Regions from separate parts of the Homo sapiens genome. Here region 2 is linked to region 1. Evidence: promoter capture Hi-C in 16 types of primary human blood cells and fetal thymus (Javierre and others, 2016). All regions are on one chromosome and are shown on one strand. The core of a region is centred on a gene start or on the middle of the fragment in contact, and the rest is flanking DNA. Distances in the headings are between cores, read along the strand shown.

Region 1 (4,023 bases), core at 809-3,308:
AAACCCTGTCTACTATAAATACAAAAAATTAGCCGGACGTGGTAGCAGGCAACTGTAATCCCAGCGACTAGGGAGGCTGAGGCAGAAGAATCACTTGAACCTGGGAGGTGGAGGTTGCAGTGAGCCGGGATCGTGCCACTGCACTCCAGCCTGGGCTACAGAGTGAGACCCCGCCTCAAAAAAAAAAAAAAAAAAAAAAAAAAAAAATCTAATTATTTCAAAATAATGTAGAAATAGGCTGTGATGGGATTGCTGCTTTTATTGCTTGGAATTCCATGGTTTATCAAGTTTGTTTGTTTGTTTTCCCCACAAATAGTTGTTTGCACTCTTGGCTTTTTGTTGTGGTGACCTGCTCATTAGGCCATAATTCATTTATGCAGTTACATGATTTTTTAGATATTGCTGACCCTGCTTCAAAAACCCATGATCTTTAGGACTGTTTGTTTGGTGCATCGTAACTGCACAATAAAAAATCCATTGTTATTTTGAACATTCTATTTTAGAGACATCATTTATTTCCACTTAAATGCTCTCGTTTAACTAGCTCAGCAAGTATTTTGTAATGTAAAAATTTAGTGGTGCTTATGTCTTTATTTTGGCTTGTGAGCAAATTCCCCTTTTCTCCTATTAACATTTATGACAGCTTTCCCTGAGTTTCCTGTTGTATCAACCCCAGAAGACAGTCACCCCCTGTACCTTCTGTCCTCCACATGAGAACAGGGCATGGAGCCTCTGGCAATTTACATTATCTTTTTTCTGGGCAATTCTTCATTGCTTAATTGTATAGTGCTTAATATAAGTGAAAGCACACTGAATGTATTGGTGTTGCAAAGGCAATGTTTTAAAATCCTTCGGTGTGCTTTACCTCTGCATTATTATTTTGTCTGTAAAAAAAGGCTGTGGCAATAAGAATTCGTTTACCAACTGGCCGGTGAGGTGGCTCACGCCTGTAATCCCAGCACTTTGGGAGGCCAAGGCGGGCGGATCACCTGAGGGCAGGAGTTGGAGACCAGCCTGGCCAACGTGAAATCTGGTCTCTACTAAAATACAAAAATGAGCCGGGAGTGGTGGCACATACCTGTAATTCCAGCTACTTGGGAGGCCGAGGTAGGAGAATAGCTTGAACCCAGAAGGTGGAGGTTGCAGTGGGCAGAGATTGCGCCATTGCACTCCAGCCTGGGCAACAAGAGCGAAACTCCGTATTTTAAAAAAAAATCATTTACTAACTATATGCCAGTGTTTTGCTTAAAGTAACTCAATTATTAACAAGTATTTACCCTTTTTACAGATAGGGCCATTGAAACTCAGATTAACATGTCTAATATCGGTGAGAGAGCAGTCACTCACAGATTCGAAACCAAAAACCAGGCTACTTCTCTTTAGCTGGGCGGCTTGGCAATATGATTAGGAATTCTTTTATGTCTTGGAATTTGGGCTTGTTTCAACTTCAGCATGGTAAATGCTCTAATATACAGGGAAGGAGTAAATCTTTTTTTTTTCTTTTTTGAGACGGGCTTCGCCCTTGCCCAGGCTAGAGTGCAGTGACGTGATCTCGGCTCACTGCAGGCTCCACCCCACGGGGTTCATGCCATTCTTCTGCCTCAGCCTCCTGCATAGCTGGGACTACAGGCGCCCGCCACCTCGCCCTGCTAATTTTTTGTATTTTTATTAGAGACAGGGTTTCACCGTGTTAGCCAGGATGGTCTCGATCTCCTGAGCTCGTGATCCGCCCGCCTCGGCCTCCAAAAGTGCTGGGATTACAGGCGTGAGCCACCGCGCCCGGCCAGGAGTAAATCTTTAAACACATACAGACATCAAAAATCGAGATACTTTCCTCTAGGTACATGTTTGACACTTTCGTTTAGAGATCCTTATTCTCTAAATGCCAGCAAATCTCCCTACTACAAGAGAATTTCTTATGTCTTGTTATTACTAGAAGTAGATGAGCGGGGACTGAATACGTTTTCCCGCCTTTCCTGGTCTTTCAGTTTTCAAAAAGGTCTACTCTACCGTTATATAAAAGGCTGCGGAAAGCGAGTAATCGTTTTGTTTAGAGATAGTTCTGACTTGTTTATCATGTCTGTTCGGGGCAAGGCCGGAAAAGGCCTTGGGAAAGGCGGTGCCAAGTGCCATCGCAAGGTACTGAGCGATAATATTCAGGGCATTACCAAGTGCACTATCCGGCGCTTGGCCCGGCATGGCGGTGTCAAGCGCATCTTGGGCCTCATTTATGAGGAGACCCGCCGGGTGTTCAAGGTGTTCCTGGAAAATGTGATCTGGTACGCCGTGACCAACACGGAGCACGCCAAGCGCAAGACGGTCACCGCCATGGCCGTGGTCTACGTGCTCAAACGCCAGGGAAGAACCCTGTAAGGCTTTGGCGGTTAAGTGAGGCCAGGCCTTTCCTTGCAATATCGTTAATGGCCCTTTTCAGGGCCGCGTACGTTTTCTTCCGAAGGGCTCACGTTTGACATTGTGGAAACTTAACTAACGCACTCAGCAATATTGTGTGTTTTATTGCTGTAGGTGCCCAAAAGCTGTTAGGTGTATAATGCTGTAAAGTATAAATTTACGCCAAGGCTGACATACAACATGGAATACAGGTGGTAAGTTAATCGTGTGTTCAGAGATTAGAAATCTGGTGGGCTGGCTGAGGACATCAACGGCTACATTGTCACTTAAAAGCTCTCAAAATGTGGTTATGGTAGTGTGTTTTTCTCCTTACTGTTAGGATTACCCTCCGTAATTAAAATTGTAGTTTTAGTGCCAAGATAACCCGACTTTTATATTCTGCTTAATAAGCAATTTCAATAACCAGAGAATACACAATAATTAGCACAAACTTGCCAGGTGCCGTTCTGACAAATGTGTCTGCAGTGGAGGGACTGGCCCCCTTGCTAGTTCAATGATCTAATTTAGCAGCACTAAAAGAAGTTTACCTGTTTCGTGCCTTTGCTTGTGATCCATCGTAAATATAGAAACACCTTGATAAGGTGTAACTGCAATAATTCGTGTCTCAATTTACTGTTTATGAAAGTACAGGGGTCAAAGAGCCAATTAAACATCTCAAGAGGGGGAAAAAACCTTCCAGAATGTGGAACATTTGGGACAATTGCTTTGTTCAAAAAGCCACCGAGAAAAACTGGAGGACTTTAAGTTTGAAGGAGATTAAAGTAACATAGCAACTAAATGTATTAATTGCATTCTGTCTCTAAAGTTTTAAAGGGCATTTTGGAGATAATCAAGGAAACTTGAACGTGAACTGGATAACAGGTCATTTTAGTAAGTTTTTAAAGAAAGGTTTGATATATTGAGATTACATGGAATTTCCCTTATTGTTAGGGGTTAGATGCTGAAGTGTGTAGGTGTAAATTCTCATGAGTCTGTCATTTACTTTCGGATGGTGGTAAAATCCACTCTATTGAATGTAGGTAGTGGATGACTGATAAACCCATCTTTTGTTATGTTTTATTCTGAATATTTTTATAATAAAAATTTGGGAAAAATTAACATAATAAACTGTTACAAACTCTGGTGCCATCACGGGAGAGGTCTCTGAACAGGTAAGTGTAAAAGACCTGTCTGCAGAGAGAGGATGCAAGTAGCAGGACACTGAGCCGCATGACACTTGTCATATGCAGGCACATTTATTCCTCTTGCTCTCACTCATCATGATCAGCTGTTAGCCAGAGGGGAGGGACATGGGAACAGGGCAGTTCAGGTACTGTTGGGAGAGGGTAGGTCTCCACTAGTGTGAAGACACAAGGGGCAATAAGTAGTTTGATGCCATGGAGACTGGGAATACATATATGACCAAAGATGCATGCCTGGCAGTTGCCTGATTGAGGAGGGCCTCCTCTTGCAAATTGAGAAACTGAGAATTAACCTTATGCTGTTGGAAGCATGTTAATGAGGTGTGACATGGAGAAACTTGCATTTAAGTTACATCAATTCTTTTGGATATTATGGCCATAAACTTTGTGCTGTGTAGTGAAAATATTGGGTTCTGCTAAGGTCAAGACA
Region 2 (4,023 bases), core at 871-3,370, 1.2 Mb before region 1:
ACATTCATAATATTATAAAATCTATAGACTTTATTGAGATTTCACCAACTATTTCAATAATGTCCTTTAAGATAAAAATTCCAGACCATATGTTGCTGTCATATCTTTAAGATCTTCTATAATGTGGACTATTTAGTCAGCCTTTCTTTGTGTTCTGTAACTTTGTTATTTTATTTATTTGTTTATTTATTTATTTATTTATTTATTTATTTTTCCTCCCTGCTTGCCTGTTACTAGGTTGATGCAAAAGTAATTGCAGTTTTTGAGGCGTACAAGTCAGTTATTTTGTTAAAATCTCCCTCAATATGGGTTTGTCTGATGTTTTCTGATTTAGATTACATATTTTTGCCAAGAATACCACAAAAGTGACGTTGTGCTCTCATGAGCACATCCTGTAAAAAAGGTATATAATGTAGATTCGTCCCAATACTGATTCAATCACTTGGGTAAGATGGTATCTACCCGGTTTCTCCACTGTGATGGAGATTACAGTGCAGAGTGGAAATTTTCTTGCTATTACAGAACCTCATGATTTCTACAGCTTATGGTTTTTGCGATCAGTATTTCGTTGGTTTGAAAGAACTCTGCTAAAGAAAAAGAGAACCCAACATTTGCCCAGAAGACTAGAGACTGTGTTTACCGGAAGTGTGCTTTTCTAAAAAAAAGTTTAAGCCTCCTCCCCGTCGGGGAATCGAACCCCGGTCTCCCGCGTGACAGGCGGGGATACTCACCACTATACTAACGAGGAATTGACGTGAAAATGGAGCTCTTAGGAAATCCCTGTGAAGTTACTCGCTATTGTCCATCTTTCTTTGCTCTGTAGTCACACGTTTCCCCTACCAAATATACGCAAGGCAATTCAGCGAACGTGTCTCCGCCCAACCGCGAATCCTCTCCAGTTCCTCCTTCATTCCTCGGACGCTTTGTCAGACCCTTTTAAAAAAGAACTCTCGCTAGCCTCCTTTGTGACGCACTGGTTTCCGTCTATGTTCAACCATGGTTGGAGCCCTAGCTAACATAGGAGTTACAAATCCCGAAAGGTGCATCGGTTGGTTTCAAAGACAGGAAAAGCAGAGGTGGGACCAATACCTGCGCTCCGTTGAGGTAAAATAGATAAAGAGTCTGCAGATGTATTTTTAAAGTTCAGGATGCGTCAAGTGGCACGCAGAAGCTTTATCACGAGTTCCCTCGCCCCCAAACTGAAAGCAAATATGACATCGTATTTCCTCTCTGAAGTAAATACGATTCCTCTCTGTTCTCAGTAAAACATCCCGAAGTCGGCAAAAGTTCAGGCTGCGTTAAGTGGCACGCAGAAGCTCTATTACGAGTTCCTTTACTCCCAAACTGAAAGCAAATATGACATCGTATTTCCTCTCTGAACTGTTCTCAGTAAAACATCCCGAAGTCGGCAAAAGTTCAGGCTATGTTAGGTGACACGCAGAGGCTCTATCACGAGTTTCTTTACTCCCAAACTGAAAGCAAATGTGAGATCCTATTTCCTCGCTGAACTGTTCTCAGTAAAACATCCCGTAGTCGGCAGGATTCGAACCTGCGCGGGGAGACCCCAATGGATTTCTAGTCCATCGCCTTAACCACTCGGCCACGACTACACGAATGGAGAAGGCTCCCTTCACATCTTTAAACAGAATTTACACCAGCTAACTGACAAGAAACGGTCAAAAGAACAAAATACGGTAAAAATGGTTTCCTGGGCAAGAAACTGGAGTCTGCGAGTTCATTAGAAACTCTAACGTGAAGTGCAAGTTGGATAAGACAAGCCAACCTCTCTGGGGCAGCCGCAAGGAGTCCTTGCCCTATCAGCAGTACCGTTTCCAGAAAACTAGAGACCACTGTACCTCTCTCACCTGGACCCAAACTGACCCCGCAAGGAAGTGGAATCAGACCCTCACCGTAAATCTGGGCCTGACACATTTAGTTTTTGTTTGAAACTTCCTCTCATTGAGGCTCCTTGATGAATGCTAATGGCTTTCAAGAAGGGACTAACTTTTGATTTGTGTCTGAACTGGAGGGCCAGAAAATGATGCAGAAAAGCCTACTTGCACTTTCTTGCTCTGATGAGGTCCCTAAGTCTCTAGGCTCACACCAACCCAAGGGAGTATATCTACCCGGTCTCGTTTGCACGGCATTTTGCATTTCACAATGCGCTTCCACGCTTCAGTTGGGTTAAGAAAGAAATTTATAGATTGTTCATGAGTTCCCATGGAACCAGGTTACCTATCAAAAGGAAGATCCTACTTTGATTTTTGGCCAAGGCAGACGCTCCTTCTCTCAAAATCTAACCCACGCAGTATGTTTTCTTTTCCTCTTATGCTTCCGTCTTGAAGTCTAAAGCTGCCGGTCCTGGAGTTTCCCTGAGCCCTTTGGATGCACAGATTATTGTAATTGGCTTTCATCTACTTCTTGGAACCATATACTAATCTAAGAAAAGAGGGAAACAATCGCAAGCTAAGAAATCATGTCGACTAAGTAGATAAATGAGGAAGAGGGACAAGAAGGAAGAGGAAAAGAAGAAAGTGACCAGAAAGGAGAAGAGAGAAAGGAAGGAGGGACAGGAGGTAGAAAGAAGAGGATGAAGGAGAAAGAAGAGGAGGAAGAGGAAGAGGAGAAACGAAGGAAGACCGGGAAGGGAAGAGACAGAGATTTTCTGAGGACCCTTGTTAGAGCTCAGAAAATGATACCCCAAAGTATGGCTCTTGGAAGTGCTGAGTACTTTGAACTAAAGAAGCAACCTCAGAATCAAAGTCTCTCTGACCTTCCGCAGCCCCACTGCCTCCTGATCCTCTTTCTTTCTTGAATGGCAGGGAGGGGCTTTCACTGAAGTTTCCCTTATTTGACTTACGGAGGTTCCTCCAGAAGGAAAGAGATTGTCATGAACCCTCTCCTGGAATCTGTATTAACCAGAGAAGATTAACTCAGATCCCAGGAGAGAAAACTAAAGGTCTCCATGCCCGGGACATCTCGCCCAGCCAGACTTCAATTCTTTTCTTCACCACCTATTCTGAGGGCTGCTACTTGAGAGACTTTATCTGTATAATAAGACAAGCTTTGTTCCCAGAGCTGTTCCTGCCCTGACCCTCACATTGCTTCTCGCCACCACCTTCCAGGAGCCTTCAAGCTCCTATTTCTTTATGTAGCTCCAAGTCCTATTTAAGCTTCAACCATCTGCCCCTTCTTTGAGTCTCACTTACACTTTCTGGGACCTCTGTGCATATGTGCATAATAAATGTGTATGCCTTTTCTTCTGTTAATCTGTCTACTAGCAGCTTTATTTCTCAGACTCAAATATCCAACCTCCAGAAGGGAGAAAAAAGATTCTCTCACCCCTACAGGCTCAAAAGAAGACTAAAAGAAATTCACTAGTTTTATGGAAGACCATAATTTGAGGGAATAGACATGAAGCAGTTTGATGGGGTAGCCAGGTGTCCATACAAATATAAGTTGTGCTATAGATTGTTGTTCATAGTTAATGCATATCACATCCTTTTTATTTGGTGGACATATTTTTATCAAGCACATCTTTATTTTTTTTTGCTGAAATCATTTGCAACTCCAGCTTTGAATAAAGTTAGATACCAAAGAAATATCAAATCTCTTTTAAGAAATTTAAAAAAATTTTAGAATCAGGGTCTTACTCTATCACACAGACTGGAGTGCAGTGGCACCATCATAGCTTACTGTAACCTGAACTCTTGGGCACAAGCCATCCTTCTGCCTCAGCCTCCAGAGTAGCTAGGAATAGAAGCATGCACCACCACTCCTAGCTAACTTTTTTTTCTTTGTAGAAAAAAAATGTATTTTCTTTGTATTCCTTGTATTTGAAGAAAAACTGACAATTTGCCTTTTTAAGTATAGAAGGACATTTGATTTGTTTCCAATTTAGGGCTAAAGTAGAAACTGGACTGGTTTTTGTTTCCTGCAACTAAGTCCTGACTCTCTACCTTTACTGAGATCCATTCTACTATGTTTTTGTTTTCAGCCCAGTAAAACAAGTAAGATTGCAGC

What was found. The method cuts DNA at HindIII sites, captures the fragments that hold promoters and counts their contacts. A CHiCAGO score of 5 or more calls a contact.
Region 2: a fragment that was not itself captured here is called in contact with the fragment with the promoter of H4C7 in region 1 in 2 of 17 cell types (naive CD8 T cells and naive B cells); the score reaches 5.6 in naive CD8 T cells.

What each region holds. Positions count from the first base shown.
Region 1 is chr6:26,245,031-26,249,053 of GRCh38, reverse strand. It overlaps H4C7 (H4 clustered histone 7), which reads left to right and starts at 2,058. Exons shown (of 1, transcript NM_003547.3): 1 at 2,058-2,443. The coding sequence starts at 2,077. The coding sequence ends at 2,373. The HindIII fragment of the contact is 5,476 bases long and covers 1-4,023 here.
Region 2 is chr6:27,476,399-27,480,421 of GRCh38, reverse strand. TRS-AGA2-2 (tRNA-Ser (anticodon AGA) 2-2) reads right to left here and starts at 1,610; the gene lies at 1,529-1,610. It overlaps TRD-GTC2-6 (tRNA-Asp (anticodon GTC) 2-6), which reads right to left and starts at 748; the gene lies at 677-748. RefSeq lists a silencer at 636-695. The HindIII fragment of the contact is 1,893 bases long and covers 1,174-3,066 here.